Linked DNA regions of Homo sapiens: regions 2, 3 and 4 are each linked to region 1. Evidence: promoter capture Hi-C in human tissues and cell types (Jung and others, 2019). All regions are on one chromosome and are shown on one strand. Each heading gives the region's core, a stretch centred on a gene start or on the middle of the fragment in contact. The rest is flanking DNA. Distances are from core to core; before and after follow the strand shown. Region 1 holds the start of GALNT13 (polypeptide N-acetylgalactosaminyltransferase 13). Region 2 overlaps GALNT13 (polypeptide N-acetylgalactosaminyltransferase 13). Region 3 has its middle 36 kb from the start of GALNT13. Region 4 overlaps GALNT13 (polypeptide N-acetylgalactosaminyltransferase 13).

Region 1 (7,929 bases), core at 2,158-4,657:
ATTTTTAAAGAAAAATTGCTTTGAACATGCTCCTGCACCATACTCATGATAAATTAGCAACTATTTTAAGAGGTGACTAGCATATCATCAAGAAAGTAGTATTGCTGCCCATGGATTTCTATTATTACTTTGAATTAGGAGGCATTATGTTTCCAGGTACTTTAGGAAATTCTCACATTCATGCAGTATCGCACATCTCATATATATATATATATATGAAGCAGTAGGGGAATCCATAAATTATTTAGGGTAAGTGATCCAGCTTACAGATCAATATATAGCCCCCAAGTATTTTAAGCTGATATATCTGTTCTTTATATTAAAAGAGAGAACTTTTCACTTGTTAGAAACCACATGAAAGTATTCACCCAAAAATGATGCCATGTCCCAACTTACTTTCAGGTAAGGAGATTGAGAGATGCCACATTTCAGGGCCCCTCTAAACTCATTTCTTCAATTCTGCAATGACTGTGTTAAAGAACACCAGCCAAGTTGTAGACTTGCAAAAAGGGGCAAATTCAAGCAATAACATGAACTACAAAGAAGCAGAAGACCCCTGTTTCAATATCCCTTCTACTAGTTCTCAATTACCATTCATAAAAAATCTAAATGAAACCTCCCAAAAAAGGAGCGGGGAGGTGGAATTTAGCTGCAGGCTCCTTAGCATACCTGGTAACTTGGAAGCCTATGATCCGCTGCATGCTAATCAATCAACCAACAAGTTTTATTAAGCACTTACTAGTTTCCCCACACTGTCCTAGGGACTACATATCTGAGACAGCCTCCATTCTCACATTCCCACTCAGGACTTTCCGAACTGGAATTAATCTATACCAGCAGTACCCTATAATTCCTTTAGAAAAGCTTTCTATTCTTCCTCTCCAAAGCGGATCCGAGACACAGTGCCCCTACTTAAGCAAGTACCTTAAGCCCTGGAATGGGATAAGCATCACAGAAATGGTGAAATAAAAGCATTTATTTAAACAAGCAGAAGCAGCCAGGAAAATTCTCCATGGAATTGAAGGTGGATAGGGGCTAAAGGAGAGATGTGAAATCCTGGTTTATGGCAAACAGTGCAGAGAAATGCATCTTTTTAATGTTCAAAGTCTGCCTTAGGCTACGCAAATTCTCCAGACCTATCCAATTCCCAAATCAAACGAACAGGGTTTCAATATGAAGGTTCTTATTCTGCAGGAGACGTGGGGAAAGAAAAAAAAAAAAAAAACAGAGATTGCGGGAGGGGGGTGCGGGGGGAAAGAAAGATTAGTAATGTAATGCAAAAGTCATTCTTTGAGGAAAAGGAAAGGATGCGTGTAATACAAGGAGAATTATCCCGGAAGGTGAGAGGTCCAAAAGTAAATAACCAATAGGTTGACCTTACTTTTCAATATTCTCGAACCAGCAGGTTTCTTTAACACTAGAGGGCATGAACGCAAACGAGACAGAGAGAGAGAGACAGGGAGACAGCGAGAGAGAGAGACACAGAAAAAGAGAGAGAGAGAAAGAGAGAGAGACGGACTGAGACTCTGAGGAAAGGCAGCTTTCACATAAAGCTGAAAATATTCAAGGATACCAGAAATTTCAAGGGGGCTTTGGCAGCCAAGTGCCTTTAGCCTTGCGAATAAAACCTCTATGTTGTTATGTTGTTTCAGGGAAGGCTGACCACGATCTCTCCAAGGAAACCGCTTTCCTAAGCAATGAATGCATGGTAGTTTAAGGCAGGCATACCTCAGTCCCCAAAGCTCCTCTCCTCTGCTAGCAACACCTTTGCCTGAAGAAAGCTCCCACCCTTTCGAGGTTAGTTTCCCTGAACCCCAAAGCATCTATGTTTGCCTGCTCACTGTCCGTTCTTCTGCAGCTGGCTATAAAGGTTGGGGAGGCAGACTCTCCTCCTGGAAATTCAACTAACCATAGTCAAAGAATCGGGTATGCGGGAGGGGCTTGCGCAGCTTTCGCTGTCCAGAGTAGCAGCCTCAGTGCGCTCAGGTTCGCAGCAGCGCAGCGCCCTCGGACCCGGCAAGGGGAGCCTGCTGCGGTGCCCTCCACTCTAACCCCTTGCGCCCCTCCTTCAGGTCCACGACAGCCTGGACAAGGGCAGGCTGTCTCCTCCGCGTCCCCACTGACCCCGCAGGAAAATCTCTGCACCTGGAGATACCCATTAGATGCGCCAGGGCTTGCTCCCCTAACCAAGGCGCTTCGGGATCGCGGGGCTGGTGTTCGGGAAGACGGGGCAGAGAGATGACAGAGGGAGACAGAGATAAGCTGCGAGAAGCAGACACAGAAAGAGAACAAATGTTGCAAAACGGAGAGACAAAAGGAAAGACAGATTAACAGGGACACAGATATCCCAAGAAAGAAAGAGGGAAACAGAATAAGAGAAAAAAACAGATACATGGCCGGAGAGTGTGGACTGAGGGGACCAAGGCTCAGAAAGAGAAACAGAGGCAGAGACACACACGGCGAGAATGAGAGGCAAGAGGACTCTGAAAAAGCGAGGCAAAGGGGGCACTATACGAAGGCAACCGTCGAGGAAGACACCCAAGACCCAGGGAGCGCCTGGTGTCGGGTCGAGTAGAAACGCCCGCAACGCAGCCGGGGCTGCCTGCAGCTGGTGCGAGAAAGTTGTCTGGGCTTGGAGGCCGAGCCACCCCCGCGGAGGAACGTCACCAGAACGCAGAGGGGGCCAGAGCCGCTCCCCCCCCCCCCCCCGCCACCAACAACTCACCGGGGTAGCCAGAAAAGCAGAGCAGAAGGTGGGCGGCGGCAGAAAGTTCCGCGCCACGCGGTCCTCCCGCAACACCTGCAGCCCCGCAAGCGAGCGCACTCGGAGCTCCCGGGAGGCCGCGTCGCCAGGTCCGCCCGCGCCCCTGCCTTTGCCCTGGGACCGGCCCGGGGCGCTCGGCTCCGCGCCCCGGCACTCGCCGCGGGACTTTGCGGCACCTAGCCCCGGCACTCTGGCAGCCCAGAGGGAGCTCGTCCCAGACAATCAAGAGGAAAAGAGGGGAAGCGAGAAAGAGACGGAGACCTGCTATCCTGGCCAACGATCCCGCGAAGAGGGAACGGCGGTCCACACACGGGATTCAGCCTCAGATCAAGCCCAGCAGGCGCCGGCCGGCCGCGCCGAGTGCGGGGCTCGCCGAGTCCGCGCTCACCTGGAACCCGCGCCGGCCCGCGAGCGCCGCGCGCAGCCCCGGCTCCCGCCCGCGCCTCTCTCTTCACACTTGCCCGCGAGCAGAGGGAGCCGGCTCCAGCCTCGGCCAGCCCCAGAGAGGGGCCTTCATAGCGCAGCGGCGGGCTGAAGGGCTCCTCGAGCGCGGCCAGAGCGGACGCTGAGGCCGAGGAGGCGCCCAGAGCGAGCGAGGGCTGCTAGCACGTTGTCACCTCAGCAGAGCCGCCGCCGCCTGGTCACTTCTCCCCGGCCCCCGCCCCCCTCCCACCCCAGCCCGCCGCCTCCCGGTCCCTCCTCCTCGCGTGGTCCCTCCTCCTCTCGTAGCCCCAGCCTGGAGGCCTCTCACTGGGCTAGTATCATTTACGTAACCAGCACCCCCAGCCCTCCTCCCTCCCTGCTCCCGCTCCTCCCCGGGCTGGGGCGGTGCGCACCGAGCGCGCTCCAGCTGCTTCTGGAGCTGGCGCTTCTGCGATGTGCGCAAGTCCCGCGATACTTGGCAGGCACGGCCCCCAAGAGCAACCCTGGGGTCAGCTCCTCTCGCCGGAGGGCGCCTCGCGACCCCTGGCCGCTTTGGGGCCCCACAACGCCAAAGCCGGCCTGCGTGCACCGCGTTCGCCCAATGCACCAGGGAGCCTCTTAGAGGGGAGCTGGAGGATCAGAGACTGCCCTCGGGGAAAGCGCCGGCAACCCCACCCTTGCCGTCGGCTCTCCAGCCGAGAGATGCTGCGGGGTACTTGACGCTTCGGCGCCCTCCGCAGAAAGGACGGAGGTTGGCCTCTTGTTGGTTACAGTATCTACACCCTGGCAGGATCCTAGTGTTCTGGTTGGCGGTGACTACTGCCACCGAACGCACTGTAAGAGTACTGGAAACACAGAGCGCTTCCTTGTGGCTCTCAAATTTTTATGAAGAGGTAAAGAAAAAAGTGGGGCTTTGAATTCCTTTCTCAGGCAAGTAGGTATGATATTAAACACACACCCACTCCGAAGTACCTGGACGTATGAATGTCTCAGTTAATGTGTTGTACCAATACCCCCATGGTACTGAGTTTAAATACATGTAAAGATTTTAGAACAGTGCCTGGCACAAGGCAGAAACCTAAGACGCAGACATTATTAGCGTCTCAAAGACTTGGGACCTGTCCCCCACTGCCATGGGAGAGGAACTTTTCTAGGAAATTGGGATTGCCGAGTTCAAGTGCCTGCTTGGCAATTTATTCACTGTGGCTCTTGGCTAGTTTTGGCCCTTCGGGTGTCAGTTGTCTTGTTTGTAATAAGGGCTGACAGGGGTCCTTGCTTCTCACAGTGTCACTTCACACATCTTATAGGATGTTTTTGGCAGAATTGGGGGAGGATATAACGACTACATAAAAATATTAAACAGCCACGTTTGACAAACATATGATACTATTAATCATAATCTAGTATGTCAATGCCATTCTTGATTATACTCATGAAAGGCAATTTCCAGAGATATTATCTTTATATCTTTTCGTGAGTCAAGTATCATTTAAATTTCTATGTTAATAACTGTATTAATGTCTCCTCCTACATTGTCCATCCTGCCCTACCGTCAATTATGGAGCATTTACCAGAGATGCTTCTGTGCATGTGTGAGTACACAGGGTCCCACTCATAACACTCTGGAATGTCTCTCTACTGCTCTCTCTAGTGAATTCCAGTCCTAACATCAGGTCACTCACCTCTACATGGCATACTGAGAAAAACTGTGGACCAGGTAAAAGATTGGGGTTCTGATGCTGATACAGCTACTTACTAGTCCTATGTTTTTCAAAGACAAATAAGCCCCCATTCTTACATGTTTCATCTCTTAAAAAAAGGCGCAATTCCATTTTGCAGTCTTTGTGATAATATTTAACTTAGGCAGAATCATAAACTTGGTAAAATTTATTTGGGTAATTGGATATTTACGTAGTCCCAAAGTATCACCCTAGAAAGTATTGGCTTTTGGTGCATAACACACCATTCCAAAACTTATTAGCCCCAACCAATAAACATCTGTAATTTCTCAAAGCTCTGTGGGTTGTCAGGTTGGTTTCTGCCCTGGCTAGCTCAGTTTGGTTTAGAGATCTAGGATGGCTTCACTCACTTGTCTGGTGTGGCATACTTATTAGTCTTGAGGGTGTGGGACTCAGCTGCAATGTTTTGTCTTTTGTTTAATCTAGCCCATCATCCTTCAATAGGCTAGCAGTAGTCGTAGTTGCAGGGCTCCAAAAAGCAACAAGGGAGTGCAAGCTCCAATGTGAAGTACTCTGAGATTCTGTGGACGTACATTTGCTGGTGTCTCATTAGCCATGGAAGTTACATGGCCCAAACATAGATAATATAGTCCATGTCTTGATGGGAGAAACTATAATGCCATATTTCAAGGAGAATGCATACACAAAAATAACTTGAGGCTGTTTTTATAATATACTATAGATCCTTAATTACAAACGAATAATAAATTACATGTAGTGGATAAATCTGGTAAACATCACCTTAACCAACTGACCAAGGTTAAAGTCACCAATAATGGGACCAAGTGATATCATGAGCCTCATGATATGATGCACTGAGAAGTACATAACATTATTGATTTAGGATTCCAGATTAAAAAATGCATAATTGAATGCAATCACGAGAAAGCAAAGAAAGCCTTAAATTAAGGAAAATTCTACACAATATCTTGCCTATACTTTTCAAAAATGTCACTGTGATGAAAGTCAAAGAAAAGCTGAGGAAATATTCCAGACTAATGGAGATTTAAAAACCATGACTACTAAATGCAATGTGTAATCCAGAATTGGAGAGCAAACTGGGAATAATATCTATTAATATAAAGAGCATTACTGAGACAATCTAATTCAAAATATTAATAAAAACTATAATATCTAAACTGTATGACTTTTATTTATAATCAAATTAGTTTTATATCAATATTAAGTGTCCTAATTTAATTGTATTGTGATCATATATAAGAAAGCCCTGGATCTTTAAAAAATATAATAAAATATTTTGCAGTAAAAAGAACATAGAGGTTGTAAGGTCCAGAAATACCTATAGAGAGAATGATGATGCAAATGTGGCAACCTTTTATAACACCATTGGTAAATTTTGGTGAGGGGTATGTGTTAATTCTTTGTAGTAATTTTGCAATATTTCTTGAAGTTTAAATACTTTTTTAAAAATCAGGTAGTTATCATTATTTACCTCATAAGAATAATAACCACAATAATTTATCTGAATGAGTGTTGAAAGTTATTAAAAAGTCATATTTTTTCAAACAGAAAGTTTGGCATTTATCTTTAATCAAAGTGGAGCTATTGCAAGTATTTGCTTAGATAAATGGTAAGACCAATACTGTACAATTCTTGGCTATAAGGCCAATACAAGGGCTACCAGGCCAAGAATGTCTATTGGCCAATATAAGGCCAAATGTATAGGGCCTTAGCTACAGAGTATACAAAAGACAGGGATATGAGTTTAGCAGCTACAATTGTCCATTATGTGATTAACCAAGGCGCTCATTCTAAAGGGAAATAAAGGGTGAGATAGTTATGTCTTGCTGAAATTAAATTACCAGGTTTTGGCAAATTATTAGGAATGATGGATAAAGGAAAATGTATTATATAACTTTAAGAGATTAAGATTGGATGAGTAGGATGATGGAGATGCCATTATTAAGGGACACTGAAAGCAATAACTTTATTTTCTAAAATGAAATCTAATAATATTTTCTTCTAATTATAACATTTAAGTGGCTTCTCATTGATTTTAAGAAATTGTCTAAAATCTCTAACATGCCCTATAAGAACCTTTATACTCTGGGGCTCTGCTTACCTCCTTTGTACTTACAATGAGCTAAGCACTGCAATAGGTTTTGAAGACAAAGAGGAAAGTAAAGACAGCCTGCACAAAACTTAGGGTTCAGTCATACATCCCATGAATATACATTGAGCACTTACAGAATGACAGTTATTTACTAGGAACTGGGAATACAGCAGTGAGCTAAGGCTAATGCTCACTGCTATATTCCCAGTGCCTACCAGTGAGAAGAAGAAAATGCCTAGCACTGTCTAGCAGTGAGAAAAAAGATATAGATCCTGCCTTCATGAATACTACATTTTGCTGAGGTATGTCCTAACCCAAAGGTCTGCAACCCCCGAACCACAGACCTATGGCAGTCCATGGCCTGTTAGGAACTGGGCCACACAGAAGGATATGAGGGATGGGTGAGCCAGTGAAGCTTCATCTGTATTTATAGCCACTCCTCATTGCTCACATTACTGCCTGAGCTCCACCTCCTGTAAGATCAGCAGCAGCATTAGATTCTCTTAGGAGTGTGAACCCTATTGTGAACTGCACATGTGAGGGAACTAGGTTGTGCTCCTTATGAGAATCTAATGCCTGATGATCTGTCACTATCTCCCATCACCCCCAGATGGGACCATCTAGTTGCAGGAATACAAGCCGAGGGCTCCCACTGATTCTACATTATGGTGAGTTAGATAATTATTTCATAATATATTTCAATGTAATAATAATAGAAATAAAGTACACAATAAACGTCATGTGCTTAAATCATCCTGAAACCATCCCCTCTCCCAGTCTGTGGAAAAATTGTCTTCCACAAAACTGGTCCCTGGGGCCAAAAATGTTGGGGAGGGCTATCCTAACCAAATAAATAAGTAGGTGTGTATTTACGTCAGGTGATAATAAATTCTAGAAGAAAATTGAAATAGGCTAAGAGTTGAGCTTTT
Region 2 (7,929 bases), core at 1,730-4,229, 54 kb before region 1:
GAAGAAAACAAAACAGACAACAAGACACAATTCCTGCCTTTTGTCTTAGGATCCAGGAGGGGAGATATACAAAAGCAGTGGATTAGGGATAAGAAAATGATGTATGAAACATATGGAGTAATTCCAATATGTAAAACTCCTAACAGATAGTTTTTATACATAACTACAAATGTTGAGAGAATGAAGTGACAAACAATACTTGGCCATAGAGTGAGTGAAATAAGGGTGGAGATAAATTTACAGAGAATGTTTAGAAAGCAGTAACATTTTATAAGGCAGATGTCCTGTGTCAAGGCAATTTGTTACCCATAGCTCTCTTCAGCCATGCTTGAATTTAGGGATATTCATTCTATGAAGATGCTATGGTTGTCAAAACCTAAAATATATGATATTGGGACTTTAAAAGGAATAGATTATTATTAAAATATAATGAAATTAAGAAGTCCTCATAAAGAAAGCTTTTAAAAAGGAATATATGGGCCTCAAAAACATAATGAAATTTAGTGATTTTAAAAATCCTATTCATCAACCTAAAAATTTATCATAGTTCATTTGATATAGCATTTAATGACTGCTCAGTGTTCATCTTATAACACGGCAAACCAATGATTCAAGCTTGTTCATTAATAGTCCTCAAGAGGGGAAGGGAGAAATTCAGAATGTTCAAGTAGATATAAAACTAGAGATTTAAAACAACACTAGAGCATTTAGACAGTTCCCAGTAGACATCTATCAGCTAGCTGGCCATCTTCTGCCATAAATCTCCTGATTAAAAAGAAAATAAATGTTTCCACTGAGACATCCAACCATTAGAAAATCTAAACTGCAGCTTCCTAGTTGGCCTTAAGGCTTCTGAATTCTTCATGACAAAATATGTAAGAAATATATTACAAGTGTTCTTTCTTTGAAATGTGTAGAATAATGTGGTTATTTCTTATCTAGGCTTCCATTTCAAAACAGGGGCATTTATTTGTAGAAAAATAATGAGGAATAATATATTATCTTGTAAAATTGTATCAGAGTCACTCTGACTAGTCTGGTTGACAATTAATGGGGGATAGAAAGTGAAATAAAGTCAAACAAAAGCACAGAACCCTAGACACAAAAGAACCCCCAGTAGCATAAAGGGGAGATGAAGAAGGGGCTTTTACAGGGTACTCTAGAGGTATACTAAACTTGCACAAATGTAAACAAAGTTTTATTTGTCTGCTCCCATATTTTAATGATTGATTTTTAACAACATCTTATCCATGGAATAAATGCACTCTTTTCTTAAACTAGTTAATAAAGTATTAATAGGTGAAATAGTCTTCTTCCACAGGGGAAAAAACAAAACAACTCATTAAAGCTTATATAAACATATTTAATAATTTGACTTGGAGCTTCGGTTTTTTTCCTGCAAACTTCCTGGTAAAGTTGTTAATCATAAGTTAAGTGCCTTAAAAGACAGGCAATTAGAGGAAAGAAGTAAATAATTACATAAAGAACTAAATATTCCAAATATTGAATACTCTCCAATTAATTAACAGTAAAGTAAAAGTTTCAAGTCCTCATGGACTTAAAATTCATATTCTTATTAGCAAAGAAAACTTGTCATATAATATTGCTAAAGATGATAATTTGTCAATCAATATAAAGCAACTAATATAATGGAGTGTATAATCCATTAATAGAAAACACAGATGTTAAAAAACAAGAAAATCTGCCATAAATATAGGAGAAAAGGAAAAATATAATGCGAGATATAACAGGTAAGCAGAGATTACCATTATGTGTACAAGCACATGAAAAGCCAACCTGTAAACAAAGCGACATTTCCCCTATCATTCTGCAAAACTTCTAATTAATTTAATTAATAATTGTGCATATTAAAGGACTATAAATCAAAATTAAATACTATTTGTAACAAAATTATATTTTAGCAAAGATGGGATAAACGGGTCCTTTCTTTCTTTGCAGATAGAAACATAAATTGGTAAAAACATTTTTGGAAAGAAATAGCGTTTATTAAAAATAAGATTTTTGACCCATTTTCTTAAAAATTATCATATACTTTGAACTAGTAATTTCTCCACTGAACACTGTTTTAAATACCCCATATTGAGAAAAGACTTTAAGTTAAGAGATATTATGACACTATTTTTAAAAATTGCAATGTCTACTTATGAATGCACTATGATTGCAACTGTTTTTTAACTTATTCATATACAAGCATTGGAAAAACGTGTAAATGTGGGAATTTTCATTGTGCTTCTCTAATGCGTTTTGTGATTTTATATAGTAACTAGAAATAGTATTTATTATCTGAATAATGAGGAAGATATATGTTTTATTTTAAAGTAATAAGAAAATCACCAATAATAGTGATACGGACTAAATTTCTGACTCATCTGATATTTGTGCCGATGTGTACGTGAGTACATGGCACGCATACAGTCATGAAAACCGTGCAAATATAGACCAACAGACCCAAAGGACTGTCAAGGGTTATTCACAAAACAGAATAAATGAGAAAGAAAAGGAAGACAGAATTCCCCATTAAAACGAAGCCTGATTTAAGTAATCTGTTTCCAAAATTCTAACTTTTACTAGTCTCTAGTATTACAGTCTCTGGAAAGATAAGAATTTGCCTCAAATGTGAAATTATTTTAAAACTCCACATTCTTTTGAAGAAAATGGCTAACTTTTCAAACCTGGACTCTTAACCAAAATTCAGGAACTATCTCTTTCTAGTTGTATATGTGGCTTTTGTTTAAACAAATACAACCTTAAATCCATCAGGACCATATTTAAAAGTGATTATTTAAAGTGGAAAAGACTACTCACTTTTAACTATTCCCACCATTGCAGCCTGTATTTCCCTCAAATCCAATTAAATCTTCAGAAAAGAAAAAAACACCAATAAATTGTATATTCATCTCATGTAAATAAATTTTAATATATTGAAAACATATACTTGGACCCTAGAACATTATTCTTTTTTATATTATTTAAATTAAAATCACATGCAACTTGAGGTATCTGAGATGCGTAGTGATTTCTGCTTTAGAAAAGCGTTGTCTCCTATTAATAGTGTACCACAATTTGAAAAAAATCATGATTGACAGGCAAGAGAAAGAAATAAAGGGTATTAGAATGGGAAGAGGGGAAGTCAAACTATCTTTGTTTGCAGGTAACATGATCCTAAATCTAGAAAACTCCATCATCTCAGCCCAAAAGCTTCTTAATCTGATAAGCAACTTCAGCAAAGTTTCAGGATACAAAATCAATGTGCAAAAATCGCTAGCATTCCTATACACCAACAACAGGCATACAACCAAATCACAAATGAACTTCCATTCACAACTGCCACAAAAAGAATAAAATACTTAGAAATACAACTGACAAGGGAAATAAAGGACCTCTTCAAGGGGAACTACAAAGCACTGCTAAAAGAAATCAGAGATGACACAAAACAAATGGAAAAACATTCCATGCTCACGGATAGGAAGAATCAATATCGTGAAAATGGTCATCCTGCCTAAAGCAATTTACAGATTCAATGCTATTTTCATTAAACTACCATTGACATTCCTCACAGAATCAGAAAAAAGAATTTTAAAATTCATATGGAACCAAAAAAGAGCTCAAATAGCCAAGACAATCCTAAGCAAAAAAAAAAAAAAAAGCTCGAGGCTTCATGCTACCTGATGCCAAACTATACTATACAGCTAAAGTAACCAAAACAGCATGGTACAGGTACAAGAACAGACACATAGACCAATGGAACAGAATGCAGAACCCAGAAATAAGACTGCGCACCTACAACTATCTGATCTTTGACAAACCTGAAAAAAACAAGCAATGGGGAAAGCATTCCCTATTTAATAAATAGTGCTGGGACAACTGGCTAGCCATATGCAGAAAATTGAAACTGGACCCCTTCCTTATACCATATACAAAAATCAACTCAAGATGGATTAAATATGTGAATACATACCCAAAACTATAAAACCCCTAGGAGAAAACATAGGCAATACCATTCAGGACATAGGCACAGGCCAAGATGTCATGACAAAGATGCCAAAGCAATTGCAACGAAAGCAAAAATTGACAAATGGAATCTAATTAAATTAAAGAGCTTCTGCACAGCAAAGAAATTATCAACAAAATAAACAGATAACCTACAGAATGGGACAAAATTTTTGTAATCTATCCATCTGACAAAGGCCTAATACCTAACATCTATAAGGAACTTAAGCAAATTTACAAGCCAAAAACAATGGCATCAAAAAGTGCACAAAGGACATGAGCAGACACTTTTCAAAAGAAAACATACATGTGGCCAACAAACATGAAAAAAAGCTCAACGTCACGGATCATTAGAGAAATGCAAATCAAAAACACAGTGAGATATCATCTCACACCAATAAGAATGGCTATTATTAAAAAGTAAAAAAACAACAGATGCTGACGAGGTCGTGGAGAAAAAGGGACGCTTATATACTGTTGGTGAGAGTATAAATTAGTTCAACCATTGTGGAAGGCAGTATGGCAATTCCTCAAAGACCTAGAGGCAGAAATGCCATTTGATCCAGCAATCTCATTACTGGGTATATACCCAAAGGAATATAAACTGTTCTTTTATAAAGATACATAAAGGCACATGTTCATTGCAGAACTATTCACAATAGCAACGACATGGAATCAATCTAAATGTCTATCAACAATAGACTGGATAAAGAAAATGTGGTATATATACACCATGGAATATTATGCAGCCATAAAAAGGAATGAGATCATGTCCTGTGCAGGAACATGGATGGAGCTGGAAGCCACTATCCTCAGCAAACTAATGCAGAACAGAAAACCAAATATCACATGTTCTCATTTATAAGTGGAAGCTGAAGGATGAGAACACATAGACACATGGGGGCAAACAAGATACACCAGGGACTATCTGAGGGTGGGGGTGGGAAGAGGGAGTGCATCAGGAAGAATAGCTAATGGATGCTCGGCTTAATACAAAGGTGATGGGATGATCTGTGCAGCAAACCACAATGGAACACATTTACCTATGTAACAATCCTGTACATCCTGCACATGTACCCCTGAATTTAAAAATAAAAGTTGGAAATTTTAAAAAATCATGATTGACATGCTGCTATAAAGACACATGCACATGTATGTTTATTGTGGCACTATTCACAATAGCAAAGACTTGGAACCAACCCAAATGTCCATCAATGATAGGCTGGATTAAGAAAATGTGGCACATATACACCATGGAATACTATGCAGCCATAAAAAATGATGAGTTCATGTCCTTCGTAGGGACATGGATGAAGCTGGAAACCATCATTCTCAGCAAACTATCACAAGGACAAAAAAACAAACACCGCATGTTCTCACTCATAGGTAGGAATTGAACAATGAGAACACTTGGACACAGGAAGGGGAATATCACACATGGGGGCCTGTTGTGGGGTCGGGGGAGGGGGAAGGGATAGCATTAGGAGATATACCTAATGTAAATGACAAGTTAATGGGTGCAGCACACCAACATGGCACATGTATACATATGTAACAAACCTGCATGTTGTGCACATGTACCCTAGAACTTAAAGTATAATAAAAAAAAATAAAAACAACCATGATTGAGATTTAACAAAAAAAATCAGATTCCAAAATCAAATCAACATGAAGAAAATACTCTCCCTGTTAAAAGTAAGCAAGGTAGAGTATGATTTTATTCAAAAGCCAAAAAAGTACATAACTAATAAAGTAGTAGTATATAACGAATGTAATTGGTTCTATTATAATTTGCTATTAATCCAGCAGAACAGCAATCAACATTTTATTTTCCTTTTCACTTCACATTTCTGGCAAAGATATGTACAAAAGCAGCAACCTGAATTAATAAAGCTATTAACTAATACATACATTTTATTCTGTTTTTAAATGTCTAATCTAAAAATGCTATTTCAGGCCAGGCACAGTGGCTCATGCCTGTAATTCCAGCACTTTGGGAGGCCGACGTGGGAGGATCACCTGAGGTCAGGAGTTTGAGACCAGCCTGGTGAACATAGTGAAACCCAGTCTCTATCAAAAATACAAAAATTAGCCAAGCACTGTGGCAGGCGCCTGTAATCCCAGCTACTCAGGAGGCTGAGGCAGGAGAATTGCTTGAACCCGGGAGGCGGAGGTTGCAGTGAGCCCAGATCACACCGCTGCACTCCAGCCTGGGTGACAGAGGGAGACTCTGTTTCAAAAAATAAAAAATTTAAAAATTAAAATAAAAAATAAAAATAAAAATGCTACTTCAAATGACCTTATTACTTTAATATAATTATTAAATAATATATCTCTGAGTTTCTAAAATATTCATTTCCATTTATCACTTCATGCCAGTCATTGCTAATTAAAGCAATTTCTGAAAACAATTTTTCTTTCCATATTATCCACCAGAAGTTAGCTGTGCGAAACATGATAGTGGACTGGGGGAAGGTGGAGAGTAAGGGTTGGGGGAAGGATTATCACCTACCTAAGTTTGCCTCAACTATAAAGTTTCCTTTCTTAAAATTAGTCTCTATAATTGGTTTGATAGCAGGGAGAAGCAATTAGTTACTAACAGACAGCTTTTCTAATTATAGTTTATTTTTGAGACAAGGATAAAATTCTAAAAGGAAACAGTCCATACATTTTCTGTAAAGATTATATATTTTCATAGCTTAAATGGGAAAGGTATAAAGCTTCAAGATCAAAAGATCTGTTTAGTCCAAGGAAAATCTTCCACTGTTTATGTGGCTGAATGATTATAATATTTTCTTTTGATTTTGAAAAGCATAGTAAATACATTCTAACAACTGACTGACATCAGAAGAAATCAGTAGGTGTACTCCAGTTCAAAGTATCTTATCTATTAATTTCTGTGAAATGAAACTGTGTTCAAACTGAGAAGAAAATATTGGTATGACTCCCCTTCCTGCAAAAAACCATAATCAGTACAAAAATTCTCTGATTTCCCACATCCATTCAGCTCTACTCCAGCAGAATAGCAATCAACATTTTATTTTCCTTTTTGCTTCACATTTCTGGGAAAGATATGTACAAAGACAGCAATCTAAATTAATAAAACCCACTAACCGATACATGGATTTTTTTCTATATGTCATTTTAATTCCTGGTTATTCCACTCCTCATATTTTTAAAATTATAGATGTATTTTAACGTATTTAAATTATGTTTATCCTTATTATATTTCTAATATCCTTTTTTTATTCATCTTATTTGCCATCCATAGTCTTTTTTCAATTATAAAAACCATCTGACCTGGATTTTATATTTCAGTTTTTAATTGGCTCTGCAGGATATATTTGTTAGTTGTTTGTCCATGTGTCAATTGTTTCTGCCATCTTTTCCAAATTTACTGTATTTTCTTCCTCTACTATGGAGAAAACACTGTATCTCTCGGCCATTCCAATATTTCCTCATAATTTCTACTTGCATTCTATCTCCCTTACTCTTACATAAACTCTTAAGCATTCTTTTTTATTATTATTATAACTTCTGTGTTAGGTTCAGGGGTGCATGTGCAGTTTTGTTATACAGGTAAATTGCTTGTCACAGGGGACTGGTGTACAGATTATTTCATCACCCAAGAATAAACATAGTACCCAATGGGTATTTTTCTGATCCTCTCCCTCCTCCAAGACTCCACCCTCAAGCAGGCCTTGGTGCCTGTTGTTCCCCTCTTTGTGTCCATGTGTTCTTGTTTAGCTCCCACTTACAAATGAGAGAATGCAGTATTTGGTTTCCTGTTCCTGTGTTATTTTACTTACTATAGTAGTATCCAGCTCCATCCATGTTATTGCTAAGGATATGATCTTTTTTGTGTCCGTATAGTATTTCATGGTGTATATGTTCCATATTTTATTTATTCAGTCTACC
Region 3 (7,929 bases), core at 2,084-4,583, 35 kb after region 1:
GTACACTTACTAGCTTAAAATATAGTGTTCTATTTACTCCCGGTTTTGAAGTCCTAAGTCTTTTAGATAATAAATACACAATGTCTCCACAGTGGTTTCAAATAGAAAGATCATCTAACATGGGCCCAGATTTTCCTGTCTCTAATTGTACCAATGATTAAAAAAAATACAAATGTATATTTCAAAACAGATCAGAAAAATTAACCATCTATTGAAGTTGCAAATTATGAATAATCTATTAAATATATGGATTTCCACTTCAGAAATATTGTGAAAAACTTTACATAATTCATAATTAATACTTTTTTCTTATGGAATATATAATATTAACATTTCCTTATATAATATACAATATTAACAGAAGGAAGGATAAAAATTATAATCAACTCAATAGAGAGGTAAAGTATTTGACAAAATTCAATGTCTTTTCATGATTAAAAACCCTCAGTGGATTAGGTATAGAAGAAATATTCTTCAACATATAAAAGCCATATATTACAAGCCCACAGCTAACATCATACTCAGCAGTGAAAACCTGAATACTTTTCCTCTAAAATCAGAAACAAAATATGGATGTCCATTCTCAGCATTTCTATTCAATATAGTACTAGAAGTTCTAGCCAGAGCAATTAAGCAAGAAAAAAAAGTAAAATATATCTAAGTTTGAAATGAGGAGTAAAACTCTCTGCTCATGACATGATTTTTATATATACAAAACTCTAAACATTACATGCACAAAAAAATTGTTAGAACGAACAAATTCAGTGAAGTTGCAGAATACAAAATCAACCTACAAAACAGTTGCATTTACGTACACTACAACACACTACCCAAAAGATATTAATAAAATAATTCCATTTATATCAAAATGAATAAAATACTTATGAATAAATGTAACCAAAGAGATGAAAGATCTATACACAGAAACTTAGAAAAAAAGATAAAAAATTGAAGAAGACACAAATGTAATTATATATTCTGTTAATAGATTAGAATAATTAATATTGTTAAAATGTCCATATTACCTAAAGTTGTCTAAAGATTCAATTCAATCTCTATCAAAACTTCAAAGACATTTTTCACAGACATAGAAAAAAAATCCTAAAATTTGTGTGGAAGCACAAGAGTTCCTGAATAGATCCCTGAGTAGACAAAAGACCAAAAGTAATCTTGAACAAGAAGAACAAAACTGGATGCATCACACTACCTGATTTTAAAGTATTTTATAAAGCTATATCAAAACAGCATGGAACTGGCATTAAAACAGACTTTTGCACCAATAGAGTAGAATTGAGAGCTCAAAATAAAGGAAAATAAAAACTCATACAAACTCAACTAATCTTCAATGAAGGCATCAAAAATACACAATGGGGAAAGGGCCGTCCCTTCAATGAAGGGGCTGGGAAAACTGGATATACCCAAAAATAAATTGGTTATATCCAATAAAATTGGACCCTTATCTTACACCACATACAAAAACTACTCAAAGTGAATTAAAGACTTAAATATAGGGTTTGAAACCATAAAAATCCTAGAAGAAATATAGGGGGAAAACCACATGACATTGGTCTGGACAATGCTTTTTTGGATATCACACCAAAAGCACAAGCAACAAAAGCAAAAATAAACAAGTGGGACTACATCAAACTAAAAAGTTTCTGCAGAGGAAAGGGAAAAATCAACAAAATGAAAAGGCCACCTATAGAATGGGACAAAATATTTGCAAACTTTATATCTGACAGTGTTTAACATTCGAAATATATAAAGAACTCATACAACACAGTAGCAAAATAGTTAAAAATGGACAAAGGACCTGAATAGAGATTTATCCAAAGAAGATATACAAATGTCCAACATGTATATGAAAAGGTGCTCAACTAATTATCAAAGAATTGCAAATCAAAACAACGAGATGTCACCTCACACTTGTTAGAAAGGTTATTATTAAAAAGTCAAATGATAATAAATATTGGTGAGGATTGGAGAAAAGGAAACACTTGTACATTATTGAAACTATTATATAAATTGGTATAGCCATTATGGAAAAAAGTAAGGAGATTCCTTAAAACACTAAAATTATAGCTACCACATGATCCAGCAAACCTATTTCTGGGAATATATGCAAAGAAAGTAAAATTAGTATCTGGAAGAGATTTCTGCATTCCCACGTGCATTGCAGCATTATTCCCAATAGCCAAGATGTAGAATCAACCTCAATATTCATTGACAAATGAATGGATAAAGAAAATGTGATGTCTATCTATAGATATAGTTACATAGAGTAGAATATTATTCAGCCTAGAAAAAGAATGAAATACTGATTTGCAATAAAATGGATGAATCTAGAAAACATTATGCTAAGTGGAATAAGCCAGAAACAGAAAGGCAAATACTGCATAATCTCAGTTAAATACATGGAATCTAAAAATGCTGAACTCATAGAAACAGAATGGAACAATGGTTGCCAGGTGAGTATCTGACAAAGGGCTAATATCCAGAATCTACAATGAACTCAAACAAATTTACAAGAAAAAAACAAACAACCCCATCAAAAACTGGGCAAAGGATATGAACAGACACTTCTCAAAAGAAGACATTTATGCAGCCAACAGACACATGAAAAAATGCTCATCATCACTGGCCATCAGAGAAATGCAAATCAAAACCACAATGAGGTATCATCTCACACCAGTTAGAATGGCAATCATTAAAAAGTCAGGAAACAACAGGTGCTGGAGAGGTTGTGGAGAAATAGGAACACTTTTACACTGTTGGTGGGACTGGAAACTAGTTCAACCATTGTGGAAGTCAGTGTGGCGATTCCCCAGGGATCTAGAACTAGAAATACCATTTGACCCAGCCATCCCATTACTGGGTATATACCCAAAGGACTATAAGTCATGCTGCTATAAAGACACATGCACATGTATGTTTATTGCGGCACTATTCACAATAGCAAAGACTTTGAACCAACCCAAATGTCCAACAATGATAGACTGGATTAAGAAAATGTGGCACATATACACCACGGAATACTATGCAGCCATAAAGAATGATGAGTTCATGTCCTTTGTAGGGACATGGATGAAGTTGGAAATCATCATTCTCAGTAAACTATCGCAAGGACAAAAAACCAAACACCGCATGTTCTCACTCATAGATGGGAATTGAACAATGAGATCACATGTACACAGGAAGGGGAACATCACACTCTGGGGACCGTTGTGGGGAGGGGGGAGGGGGAGGGATAGCATTAGGAGATATACCTAATGTTAAATGACGAGTTAATGGGTACAGCACACCAGCATGGCACATGTATACATATGTAACTAACCTGCACATTGTGCACATGTACCCTAAAACTTAAAGTATAATAAATATAAAAAAAAAAAGAACAATGGTTGCCAGGTTATGGGATGGGGGAGGAAATAAGAGAATTTCTGTCATACAGTACAAACTTTCTAAGATGAATATATTCTGAAGATCTAATGTGTAGCATGATGACAATAGTTAATAATGTACTTGAAATTTGCTAAGAGTAGATTTTAAGTGTTCTAACCGCAAGAAAACAATGGCAATTGTATGAGGTGATAGATGTGATAATAAGCTTAATTATGGTAACTATTATACAATATATAGGTATATCAAAATATCAGGTTGTGCACTTTAAATATATACAATAAAAACATTTTCTCCTTGTCTTATCACATCAATAAATTGCCCCATGTGTTATTTCACCTTCTTTGCATTCAGATGTCAAAGACATAGCTGAGATTGCATCTTTTCCAGATATATTTAGGTAATTTGCCAATTTGGGATTGAAAGTCTAGGATTAAAGACTCCTAAAATTATTTTATCTTAACCATAGATCAGGGGACAAGATAAATTCATATTAGCTTCATAACATAGAGCACATTAAGGCAAACTCAATGCTTTTGATAGGTTCACTATTCCCCCCAAAATGGCAAAGCTAAAATGGACATATTACTTAGAGAAGAGTAATCTGATATTCAATCTTAGAATGGCCAGATCAGTCAAGTCATATGGAGCAAGTGAGCTCATTACCCATCAAAATATAAGAGTTAATCTGCTGGTTTCCATAAATCCAAAATTTGTTATTGAAACATATATTTAAAGTATTTTAATATGACAGGAAGTGATAGCACTAAAATAATCATGTAAATATATGTGATAAGTAGATGAAATTCACTCTTTTATATTATGAAGCATAGACAAATTGGGTTTTATCAAAGTATTTCTATATTTTAAAAGTAAGTTTTAAGTTTATTAATTTCAATTTAAAGGAATTTAAATCAAAACCTTCAAGATTCCAGTTTCCCAGAAACTATAACATTAAAACCATTTCATCATAGAACCAAAACCCCTTTCATTAAATTTGTATTTTTTAAATGACTGCATTCTTTATTCTAATTATTTTTTATTACTCAAACTATCACTGGTACCAAATATTGCATCAGATGCTTTGAATGACAGGTAACAAATATTATAATCTTAAGTGAATTAATAAGAAAGTACATTGTTGGACATAAATAATTCTTGTGTTTTGCAATTCTATCTATCTTGCATGTGAGTTTTCTTGGGATACAACATGTAAGATTAACCACCATGACCCTGTACTCACTACCTAAAACAACCAGATATACGCTATAATGTTTTATGCTTGGTTCAGGTTCTTTTAAGTATATATATTTAAAAAATCCATCCAAGTCAGCTCAGGATAAGAAGTTTTGCTGTAAGATTACAAGAGGAAAAAGTCTAGAACTAGAAAGAAAAAGTACCATGAGAGGAGGCAACTTCAAGGACCAGACTGTCTTCTCTTCTTTTTCACAGACTTAATTACCTCCTCTTGAGTTTCAATTTTTCTTCGCGTGTCTTTTCTGCTCTTCTCTCAATTGAGTTTCTACCAATTGACTTAACTCTGCTTACTCATACTTCATGGTTGTTCAAATATTTAAGTTGAAAATATGCTTATCCCCATTGAAAAGCAAATATTTACAAGGCATGGACTATGTTCTAGGTACAGACAGCTTCATCTTGCCATGGCTCCAACTCCACCTCATGTTTTGTCAGTTCCTTTCCTCCCATTATACATGTTATATAAGCCTGTTGTATGCCTCATTATCTTTCCAAATTCATGTTCCCCAAAAAGAAAATCAATGTGTACTATAGAAGTTGTAAATGGTGACTCAATAGTCATTTTAAACTTTCAGATATGTTTTGAGCATAGATACTCTTGCCTCCCCTCCACTAAAGTATTAAAAAATTGTATTAACTCCCAATATTTATAAATTGGTAACTTTTACCAAAATATCCTAATTTTTGCCATCCCTTGAAAAAACAAGAGCTGACAACACTTGGCATTTTGTTTATGCTAACAATTACTTGGTGCTGATTAGCTACAGTCCCCTGGACAGAGCCTGTGCTCTCCAGGTTGCCACCACTCCCAACTCTGTCCTACAATAAGGCTGAGATTCTTTGGCTTTTATCTTTGTCTTTATGCCCTGGCATATTTTAGAGAAGAGCTTCTAAGCAGAAGAAAGTGAGCTACTGTTTAATCTGGCCTCCTTCATTCTTTTATATTATCTGCCTGGCCTCTGGCAACTTTCCAGTTTGCATATCTTGCAGTCTCATTTTAGCATGGTGTCCAGCCTGTGGTAGGGCTTCCCTAGATTAAGCACATTCTCTGGGTCCTGGGAGTGAGAGAGCTTTACAACAGAAAATATACCCGCCTAACTAAAAACAGCTACAAGTGGTACAAATTTCCTTACAAGGGGGTGAAGACAGGCAAGCCGGTATATTAACTTTTTCAATTTAATATGATAAAAACAAAATTGAGTATGCCTAAATCACAAAAAAAATTAATTTTTTATCAGTAACATTGTTAAGAAATCACACCACTCTTTTCGGAGTGATAATTCTGAAGACTGAAAGGTATGGCTGTCCAATATTATACTAAGAAGGGAATCAAAAAGGAATAGAAAGCTTGGTGGCATAGAATCCCCAAGCTACCACCATATTTTGAGACGTGCCAAAATATAAATCTCCCAAAATGGTTCTACCTGGAGAGTTGATTTTACAATTTCTGTTTCCAGTCTTCTAAAACAGGGGTTGGCAATATTCAATCTATGACCCAAATCTGGCCTGCTGCTTGTTTCGTATAAAGTAGTCTTCCCTTGTCTATGAAAGATTCATTTCAAGACGCCTAGTGCATGCCTAAGAACATTGGTAGTACTGAACCGTATGTACATCATGTTTTCTCCAATACATACATGCTTGTGATAATGTTTCAGTTAAATTTGATACACTAAGAGATTATCAACAATTACTAATAAAATAGAACAATTAAAACATTATACTGTGAGACTTCTTTCTTCACAATTTCACAGATAGAAGATTTGTTCTTACCGTAGATCTTAGCAACCTCAAGTTACAATTTTTGTTCTTATTAAGTCTAGAACTTTCATGTTTCTACTTTTAAATAGAAGATTTGTTCTTACTGTAGATCTTAGCAACCTCAAATTACAATTTTTATTCTTATTAAGTCTAGAACTTTCATGTTTCTACTTTTAAAAAAGTGTGTTATAGCTTCTACTTATCATGTCAGAATTACCACCATCACTATGCTTGTGCTTTGGTGACATTATTAAGTAAAATAAGGATTACATGAATTCAAGCACTGCAATACCAGGATAGGTGATCTGATGACCAAAAGGGCTACTAAATGACTAGGTGGCAGGGAGCATAGTCAGCATGGAGATGCTGGAGAAAGATAATTCACATCCTGAACAAGATGGAGAGGGACAGTGCAAGATTTTCATCAGGCTACTCAGAATGGTGGGCAACTTAAAACTCGTGAATTGTTTATTTCTGGAATTTCCCATTTAATATTTTCAGACCAAGCTTGACCACAGGCAATTGAAGCCATGGAAAGCAAAATAGAGGATAAAAGGGGACTACTGTATAAAGCCTTGTTGGGACATATCCATGCCTATTTGTTTAGTATTACCTGTGGCTGCTTTTGCATTAAAAAGTCAGAATTGCATAGCTGTGACAGAGACTGTCTGGCTTTAGAGCCTAAAATATTTACTGACACTTTACAGGAAAGGTTTGTCTATCCCTTTTCTAAAGAAAAACATAACTAGGTACCCAAAATACATTACAAAATGGCCCTTGTAGCAGAAGTGCTCCTTCTACCTGATCTAAAGTCTCCTGCTGCAGCTTTAATTTAATTACTTCATTTTGACCTTGGCTGAAATGAAGAGCTACAAAACAATATCATCAGTAATATTTATTCATATTGAAATCTGTTAGCAAACAATCAACTCTGCCATTTTGTAACTAAAACTACTAACTTTTATTTTATTAGTCACACTCCCCGGATTAGTAGTGGAGTCAAAATAAAGATCTTTTACAACTACATACCTAATTCCCTGAACAACTTAAATCCCATGATAACTCCACTTATTTTTGAACTTGTTTTGATTATGGCAAAATTGACCTATCGAGACTCTCATACTAAAATAATGAAATTCTATTTTATGCCTTCACAGATCATCACCAATAACATATATAATTCACTATGAATAGCATTTCTTTTGGAAATAATTTTTATTTTTAGCAATGTCTGCTGTGATCTTCCTTGTCCTTTGTTAGTCTCCACTATGCCTTCTTCATTTTTTCCCAGTGAATGTCAATTGTGATACAGTCAGATTATTCAGGCATTGATGGAACCAGGTAGACTTCATTTATGCTATTAGCATAAACTTTTAACATAGCTACAAACATCTCCAGTGATTATGCTCTGAAACATACAGTTCTCTTCTTTCATTAAACTTCAGAAAAAATTAATTACTTAAAATCGACATGGAATTAAAAGTTTTCCTTTATTCTGGCAATGACCTGCTCAAA
Region 4 (7,929 bases), core at 2,220-4,719, 34 kb before region 1:
AAGCAATTTATAGATTCAATGCTATCCCTATCAAACTATAAATAACATTATTGGCAGAACTAGAAAAATATATTTTAAAATTCATATGGAACCAAAAAAGAGCCCAAATATCCAAGGCAAGATATCTCAGCAAAAAGAACAAAGTTGGACGCATTATGTTACCAACTTCAAACTATACTACAGAGCTACAATAAAAAAATGGCATGGTACTGGTACAAAGGCAGACATATAGGCCAATGGAATAGAATAGAGAGCCCAGAATTAAGGCTGCACACCTACAACCATCTGGTCTTCCACAAAGTCAACAAAAGAAAGCAATGAGGAATGGACTCCCTATTCAATGGGAGTGTGCTTGGATAACAGGCTAGCCATATGCAGAAGATTGAAACTGGACTCCTTCTTTATACCACATAGAAAAATCAACTCAAGATGGATTAAAGACTTAAATGTAAAACCCAAAACTATAAAAACTCTGGAAGACAACCTAGAAAATACCATTCTGGATGAAGAACCTGTTAAAGGTTTCACGACAAAAACACCAAAAGCAATTGCAACAAAAGCAAAAATTGACAAATGGGATCTAACTCAACTGAAGAGCTTCTGTGCAGAAAAAGAAACTATCAACAGAGTAAGCAGACAACCTATAGAATGGGAAATATATATGCAAACTATGCATCTGACAAAGCTCTAATATCCAGCATCTATAAGGAACTTAAATTACAATGAAAAAGTAAACAACCCCATTAAACAGTGGGCGGAGGACATGAACCAACACTTTTCATAAATGTGGCAAACAATCACATGAAAAAGCTCACTATCACTGATCATTAGAGAAATGGAAACCAAAACCACCATGAGATACCATCTTACACCAGTCAGAATGGCTATTATGAAAAAGTCAAATAACAGAACAGACAAGGTTGTGGCGAAAGGGAACACTTACACACTGCTTGCTGGTGGGAGTGTAAATTAGTTCAACTATTGTGGAAAGCAATGTCATGATTCCTCAAAGAGTTAAAAACAAAATTACCATTCAACCCAGCAATCCCATTACTGGGTATATACATAAAGGAATATAAATTATCCTACCATAAAGACACATGCACACATATGTTAATTGCAGCACTATTCACAATGACAAAGATATGGAATCAACCTAAATGCCCATCAATGGTAGAATGGATAAAGAAAATGTGGCACATATACACTATGGAAAACTATACAGCCACACACACAAAAAAATTAGATCATATCCTTTGCAGTAACATGGATGGAGCTGGAGGCCATCATCCTTAGCAAACCAAGGCAGGAACAGAAAACAAATACCACATGTTCTCATTTGTAAGTGGAGGCTAAGTGATCAGAACACATGGACACAAAGAAGGGAAAAACAGACAATGAACTCTACCTTAGGATAGAGGGTGGCAGGAGGTAGAGGAACAGAAAAAAATAACCATTAGGTACGAGGCTTAGTATTCCAGTGACAAAATAATCTGTACAACAAACCCCCATGACACAAGTTTACCTACATAACAAACCTGCTCATGTACCCCTAAACCTAAAATAAAAGTTAAAAAAGTGTATATAATATGTATGTATTATTATGTATGTAATTATATGTATATGATACATATGTATATAATTATATGTGTGTGTGTATATATATAATCTTAATATTAAACTGCATTAAACTTCTAGGCACAAATTAACCAAAATACATAAGACCTCTAAACAAAAAACCCTTCTGCACAGCAAAAGAAACTACCATCAGAGTGAAAAGGCAACCTACAAAATGGGAGAAAATTTTCGCAACCTACTCATCTGACAAAGGGCTAATATCCAGAATCTACAATGAACTCAAACAAATTTACAAGAAAAAAACAAACAACCCCATCAAAAACTGGGCAAAGGATATGAACAGACACTTCTCAAAAGAAGACATTTATGCAGCCAAAAAACACATGAAAAAACGCTCATCATCACTGGCCATCAGAGAAATGCAAATCAAAACCACAATGAGATACCATCTCACACCAGTTAGAATGGCGATCATTAAAAAGTCAGGAAACAACAGGTGCTGGAGAGGATGTGGAGAAATAGGAACACTTTTACACTGTTGGTGGGACTGTAAACTAGTTCAGCCATTGTGGAAGTCAGTGTGGCGATTCCTCAGGGATCTAGAACTAGAAATACCATTTGACCCAGCCATCCCATTACTGGGTATATACCCAAAGGATTATAAATCATGCTGCTATAAAGACACATGCACACGTATGTTTATTGCAGCACTATTCACAATAGCAAAGACTTGGAACCAACCCAAATGTCCAACAACGATAGACTGGATTAAGAAAATGTGGCACATATACACCATGGAATACTATGCAGCCATAAAAAATGATGAGTTCGTGTCCTTTGTAGGGACATGGATGAAACTGGAAACCATAATTCTCAGCAAACTATCACAAGGACAAAAAACCAAACACTGCATGTTCTCACTCATAGGTGGGAATTGAATAATGAGAACACATGGACACAGGAAGGGGAACATCACACTCTGGGGACTGTTGTGGAGTGGGGGGAGGGGGGAGGGATAGCATTAGGAGATATACCTAATGCTAAATGATGAGTTAATAGGTGCAGCACACCAACATGGCACATGTATACATATGTAACAAACCTGCACATTGTGCACATGTACCCTAAAACTTAAAGTATAATAATAATAAAATTTAAAAAAAAAGAAAAAAAGAAAAATTAGCTTGAACTCAACATTAAAAAAAAACAACCAGACATGGGATTAAGAGAAACTAAAAGATCAAAATAAATAAGTCCCCCCTTACTTATGGTTTTGCCTTCCATGGTTCCAGTTACTCATCGTCAACTGTGGTCCAAAAATATTAAATGGAAAATTCCAGAAATAAACAATTTATAATTTTAAATGGTGTGCTGTTCTGTGTAGCTTGATGAAATTTCCCATGGCTCTGCTCTATTCCTCCTAGGACTTTAATCATTCCTTTGTCCAGCATCCTCATGCTACATTCACAACCCACCCAATAGCCACTTAGTAGCCATATCGGTTATCAGATTGATTGCTAAAGTTATCACAGTGTTTGTATTCAAGTCACCGTTATATTACTTAATAATGGACCCAAATTACAAGACTGGTGATGTTGGCAATTTGAATATGCCAAAGAGAAGCCATAAAGTGTTTCCTTTAAGAAAATAATAAAGGGAAAAAGTTGTTTGCTCACGTTGCTAAGCTCTATGGTAAGAATGCTTCTTCTGTCCTTGAAATTGTGAAGAAAGAACAAGAGATTTATGTTAGTTTTGCTGTTGCACCTCAAACTATGAAAGTTATGACCAAAATCATTCACAAGACTTCATCTCATCATGTAGGCATTGTATTATCTCACATCATCACAAGAAGCAGGTTAAGTACAGTACAATAACATACTTTGAGAGACAAGGAGACTATATTCACATAACTTTTATTACAGTATATTGTTATAATTGTTCTATTTTATTATTAGTTGTTGTTAATTTCTTCCTGTGCCTAAGTTATAAATTAAACTTTATCAGAGGTATGTATATATAGAAAAAACCATAGTCTATATATAAGGTTTAGTACTATTTGCAGTTTCAGGCATCCACTGGGGATCTTGGAATGTGTCCCCAGTTAATAAGGAGGAAATGCTGTATATATTATGTTCATAAATGAAATCAGTTAATATTGTAATTACACCAGCTCTTTAAAAATTTACTTAACAATAGATTGAATGCAATTCTAACTAAAATCTAAACAATTATTCTTGTTAACTTGACAAAGTAATTCTAAAATTTACATGAAAGAAGGCAAAGTCAACATGCCTTTGAATAACATGTGGTAGAAGAACTTGTTTTAATAGATATTAAGAATATTTAAAAAGTAGCCATAGTTAAAATAGTGTTATAAGTGGTAAGAAGAGACTAATAATCCAATTAAATAGAAGTTGGCTCCTAAAAGACCCAGACATATATAGAAATTTAATTTATAGTAAATATGACATTAAAGAACAGTGGGCGAAGGAGAGAATTGTCCAGTATGATTCTATAACAACTGGATATCTAGAACTTGACTTCTACCTCACATCACTCACAAAAATGAAGGCAAGTGGAAAGATATAAACATAATGAGGTGATATAATGATTAAAATTAAAATTAGGAACATCAAAAAAACCTCATTAAGAAATTGAAAAACCAAATCATAGAAAAGGAGAACTTTGCAGCATATTTAACTGATGGGAGGCTCTTAATCTAGTGTAACTAACTTGTGAATATTAACAATTTTAAAAATCAACACAATAGAAAAATACACATATGAACAGGAAATTTATAGACAATAATATGTTCATGGCTATTAAGCTACATGACATAATCATATTAATCAACAAGAAAATGTAAACCAAACTCTCACCAGAATGGCTAAAATTAAAAGAAATGATTATACTAATCTTTGGTAAAGATGAAACAATGGAAACTCTTACACACTAATGAATGAAGTGAAATTAGTATAGTTACTTTGGAATACTGTCTGGTAGTATCTACTAAAGTTGAAAGATTGCATGCAATATGACTAAGAAATTCCATTGCTAAGTATATATTCAAGAGAAATATATGTACATATTTAGCAAAAACACATTTAAAAGAATGTTTATGGCAGCATTACATTTGGGTAATGGCCCAAACCTAGAAAGAGCACAAATGTCCATCAACAATACAATGAATAAATATTCTGTAGTATTTCTATACAATGGAATACTATATAGCAATGAAAATTAATGAACCACACAAAAACATTAAAGAAACTTAAAAACAAACATACATTCAGAAAAGGACACCATACACTGAAGAATGTGTGTCATATGAATATTATGTACATTAATTTAAAAATCAGGCTAAACCAATATTTTGCATATAAGGATACATTATTTAAAGTTAAAACTATAATGAAAAGCAAGGAAGTAATTCCCACAAATATCAGGAATAATGTCATCCACGGGAAACTGATGGAAAGGAGGTAATGGCTGGCAGGCAGAAAAAGTAGGATTGGAGATGCAGCAATTGTTCTATTTCTTGACCTGTGGGATGGTTACATGGGTCTTTGCTTGTGAAAATCATTGCTCTGTCTCCTTAATGCGTAAAAATTCAAAGCAAAAAGCTTAAAAGAGTAATAATTATGTAGGTGAAATTGAAAAATAGAAAACTGTTACCTGAGATAAATTTTAATAAACATAACTTTTATTTAAAATTCGCTGCTACCAAGAGCCATTTAGGTGATTTATCTCATTTAAGCTTTACAATATCCAGAAGACACAGTACTATTAATAACACATTTTGAAGGTACAGAGGCTGACGCACAGAGAGCATCAATAATTGACACAAAGTCACACAGCAAATGGGCCTTACTTGGAACATGAATCAATGAAGCAGAATGGTCCTGGAGACCATGGTCTTAAGCAGTATATTATTCTACTTCTCCAGTATATTAGGTTGATGCAAAAGTAATTGCAGTTTTTGCAAAGTAATGGCAAAAATGCAATTACTTTTACATTAACCTAATAGAAAAAGAGATACTCCATATGCTGAGTGTTACGTTTTTCCCTCGTCAAAATTAGTTTTGCATGATCGGTAAACTAACTTTAAAATGCGTTCTTTTACGGACCCAAGATACAAAATCTTTTTTTTTACCACTCTATCCTTGTTTCATTTTTAAGTTCTACTAAGGAAGGAAGACAAATCAGATTAAGATGACATGTTTACTATCGTAACTTATAATTGAATAATATAATAAATTACTGTTGCTATTGCCCAACAAGTGAATATATACAAGAGATTTATCACTAACCATAAGGTACATTTCTCCCTAAAGGTCAAGATTTTTCTGGCTATCCAAAAACCTATCTAAAGAAAGGGTAAACTCTGTAAACAAAATATGTTTCTCTGATTATTGGCAACATCATTTTCCAGCTCAGTAATCCTGGAAGCTTCAGTTATTTTTTTAGATAAATGATGGTACACTGGTAAACTGCAATGACTCTGGAGCTTGACTAAATGGCCCCAAATGTCAGGCATGGTATGTTTTACTTTTGTGACCTGGGACAATTTGCTTAAATGATGCCTCTCTCAGTTTCCTCTTGCACAAAATGGGGATGACATTAGTCATTAACATTTAAAACAACCCTGGTACTCAGTGAATCCTGCACAAGCATTAATTATTACTATTACTCCCTGAACCTGTTTACTTCCAAATAAATCTCACATGCTCCAACCCCTGCCAGTCCATCCCCACTGCTATGACCTTAGGTCTTGCCCTCATCCCTTCATTCTTATCCCTCTACAAATGCTTAAAAATTGATCTTTTTGCAACAAGTCTTCCAACTGCAATCCAGTTTGAAGATATCACCAGAATAACATTTAAAAATACCTTTTTCCTAGTTTGAGGAAAAATAGTTTCCTCAAACTAATGACAAAGTTTCCTTGAGAGTTCTTTTTGTCTTTCTCTCCCACTTACTCTAGTCCTTACTAACACAGTACCTCTCACATTTAGGAGCATGGACTATTAATTGAACCAAAGGAAATAAAATTACTAAACAAAATCACTAGCTTTGTCTTCCAGAGGTCAAATCTAGAAATGGAGACTTCATCTCTTATTCTCATCCCTCTGTAAATCCTTCAGTCTCAAAACCAAAAGTAGTGTGGGAGCATGAACGATTTAATCCATTCAATTTTAGAGCAATAATCTTTTAAATACTAGTAATTCTGAAAATGTCCCCAGATAAAATGTTGCTGATGATTTGTTTCAAGAAATAAAGTGTACAGGGGTTAGGACCAATGGATGGCTAACGTGAAAGAATTTGAAGATCACCAGAGTCCAAAAGGGAAAGCATCAATGTGGCCAGTGTGATGTAAAGGATAGTACTATGAACACTACACATCTGAAGATAATAAAGAGGGAAGAGAATGGTAAGTCAAGCTCAACCCTTCATTGCAATCTCTTCTTCACTGCAAAAAGCAACTAAAAAGGAGTGCAAGAAAAGGCTGTGGTCAGCCACTGCAAATGCTGAAAAGTATAATAGAAGAGTAAGGTATTATATCTGCCATTAGGGGAGGAGCTGTTATATATTTTTAAGTTTTCTCTAATCAAATAGCATTTTGTTCAAGGCAACTCATTTTGGGTTGCTGATTGGTTCTATTGACACTGAATATAAGGCAATTCTTATTTTTTTAAATTTGAAATTCAGTCACAAAATACTCATTTACTCTGATGGGTAGTGTTGGCCAGAACACTTCATCAGGGCAGAGGTATATTTCTCTACAACAACAATTTCTAGCCTGACAGCAAAACGAGAACACAATCCCACTCACAGTAACCCCCAAAAGAATAAAATACCTAGGAATACAGCTAACCAAGGAGGAGAAAGTTCTCAACAAAACACTGGTCAAAGAAATTAGACATGACACAAATAGAAAAACATCCCATGCTCATGGACAGGAAGAATCAAGATTGATAAAATGGTCATGACGTCCAAAGCAATTTACAGATTCAATACTATTCCTATCAAACTGCAAACGATATTGTTCATATAATTAGGAAAAACTATTTTATAATTCATAAACCAAAAAGAGCCAAAATAGCCAAGGCAATCTTAAGCATAAAGAAAAAACTAGAGGTATCACATTACCCGACTTCAAACTATACCACAGGGCTGTAGTAACCAAAACTGCAAGGCACTGATACAAAAAGAGACACACAGAACAATGGAACAGAATAAAGACCCCAGAAATAATGCTGCACACATACAACCTTCTTATCTTTAACAATGTTGACAATATCAAAGACTGTAAATAGAAATGGGTTCTTTCATGACTGTCTGCCAAATTAATCG

Evidence for each region. The method cuts DNA at HindIII sites, captures the fragments that hold promoters and counts their contacts. A contact is called where the count stands out against the background at its distance.
Region 2: a contact is called between a fragment that was not itself captured here and the fragment with the promoter of GALNT13 in region 1, in 6 of the 25 tissues and cell types used here (aorta, heart left ventricle, hippocampus and 3 more).
Region 3: a fragment that was not itself captured here is called in contact with the fragment with the promoter of GALNT13 in region 1 in 6 of the 25 tissues and cell types used here (dorsolateral prefrontal cortex, hippocampus, mesendoderm cells and 3 more).
Region 4: a contact is called between a fragment that was not itself captured here and the fragment with the promoter of GALNT13 in region 1, in 2 of the 25 tissues and cell types used here (liver and ovary).

Annotation. Positions count from the first base shown.
Region 1 is chr2:153,867,400-153,875,328 of GRCh38, reverse strand. It overlaps GALNT13 (polypeptide N-acetylgalactosaminyltransferase 13), which reads right to left and starts at 3,407. Exons shown (of 13, transcript NM_052917.4): 1 at 3,026-3,407. The HindIII fragment of the contact is 9,874 bases long and covers 1-7,860 here.
Region 2 is chr2:153,921,237-153,929,165 of GRCh38, reverse strand. The region is part of intron 2 of GALNT13 (polypeptide N-acetylgalactosaminyltransferase 13); the gene reads right to left. Among named protein-coding and RNA genes, the nearest start is that of GALNT13, 53 kb to the right of the region's middle. The HindIII fragment of the contact is 3,993 bases long and covers 983-4,975 here.
Region 3 is chr2:153,831,967-153,839,895 of GRCh38, reverse strand. It overlaps a transcript of GALNT13 not described here. Among named protein-coding and RNA genes, the nearest start is that of GALNT13, 36 kb to the left of the region's middle. The HindIII fragment of the contact is 6,259 bases long and covers 204-6,462 here.
Region 4 is chr2:153,901,050-153,908,978 of GRCh38, reverse strand. All of the region lies in intron 2 of GALNT13 (polypeptide N-acetylgalactosaminyltransferase 13), which reads right to left. Among named protein-coding and RNA genes, the nearest start is that of GALNT13, 33 kb to the right of the region's middle. The HindIII fragment of the contact is 4,425 bases long and covers 1,257-5,681 here.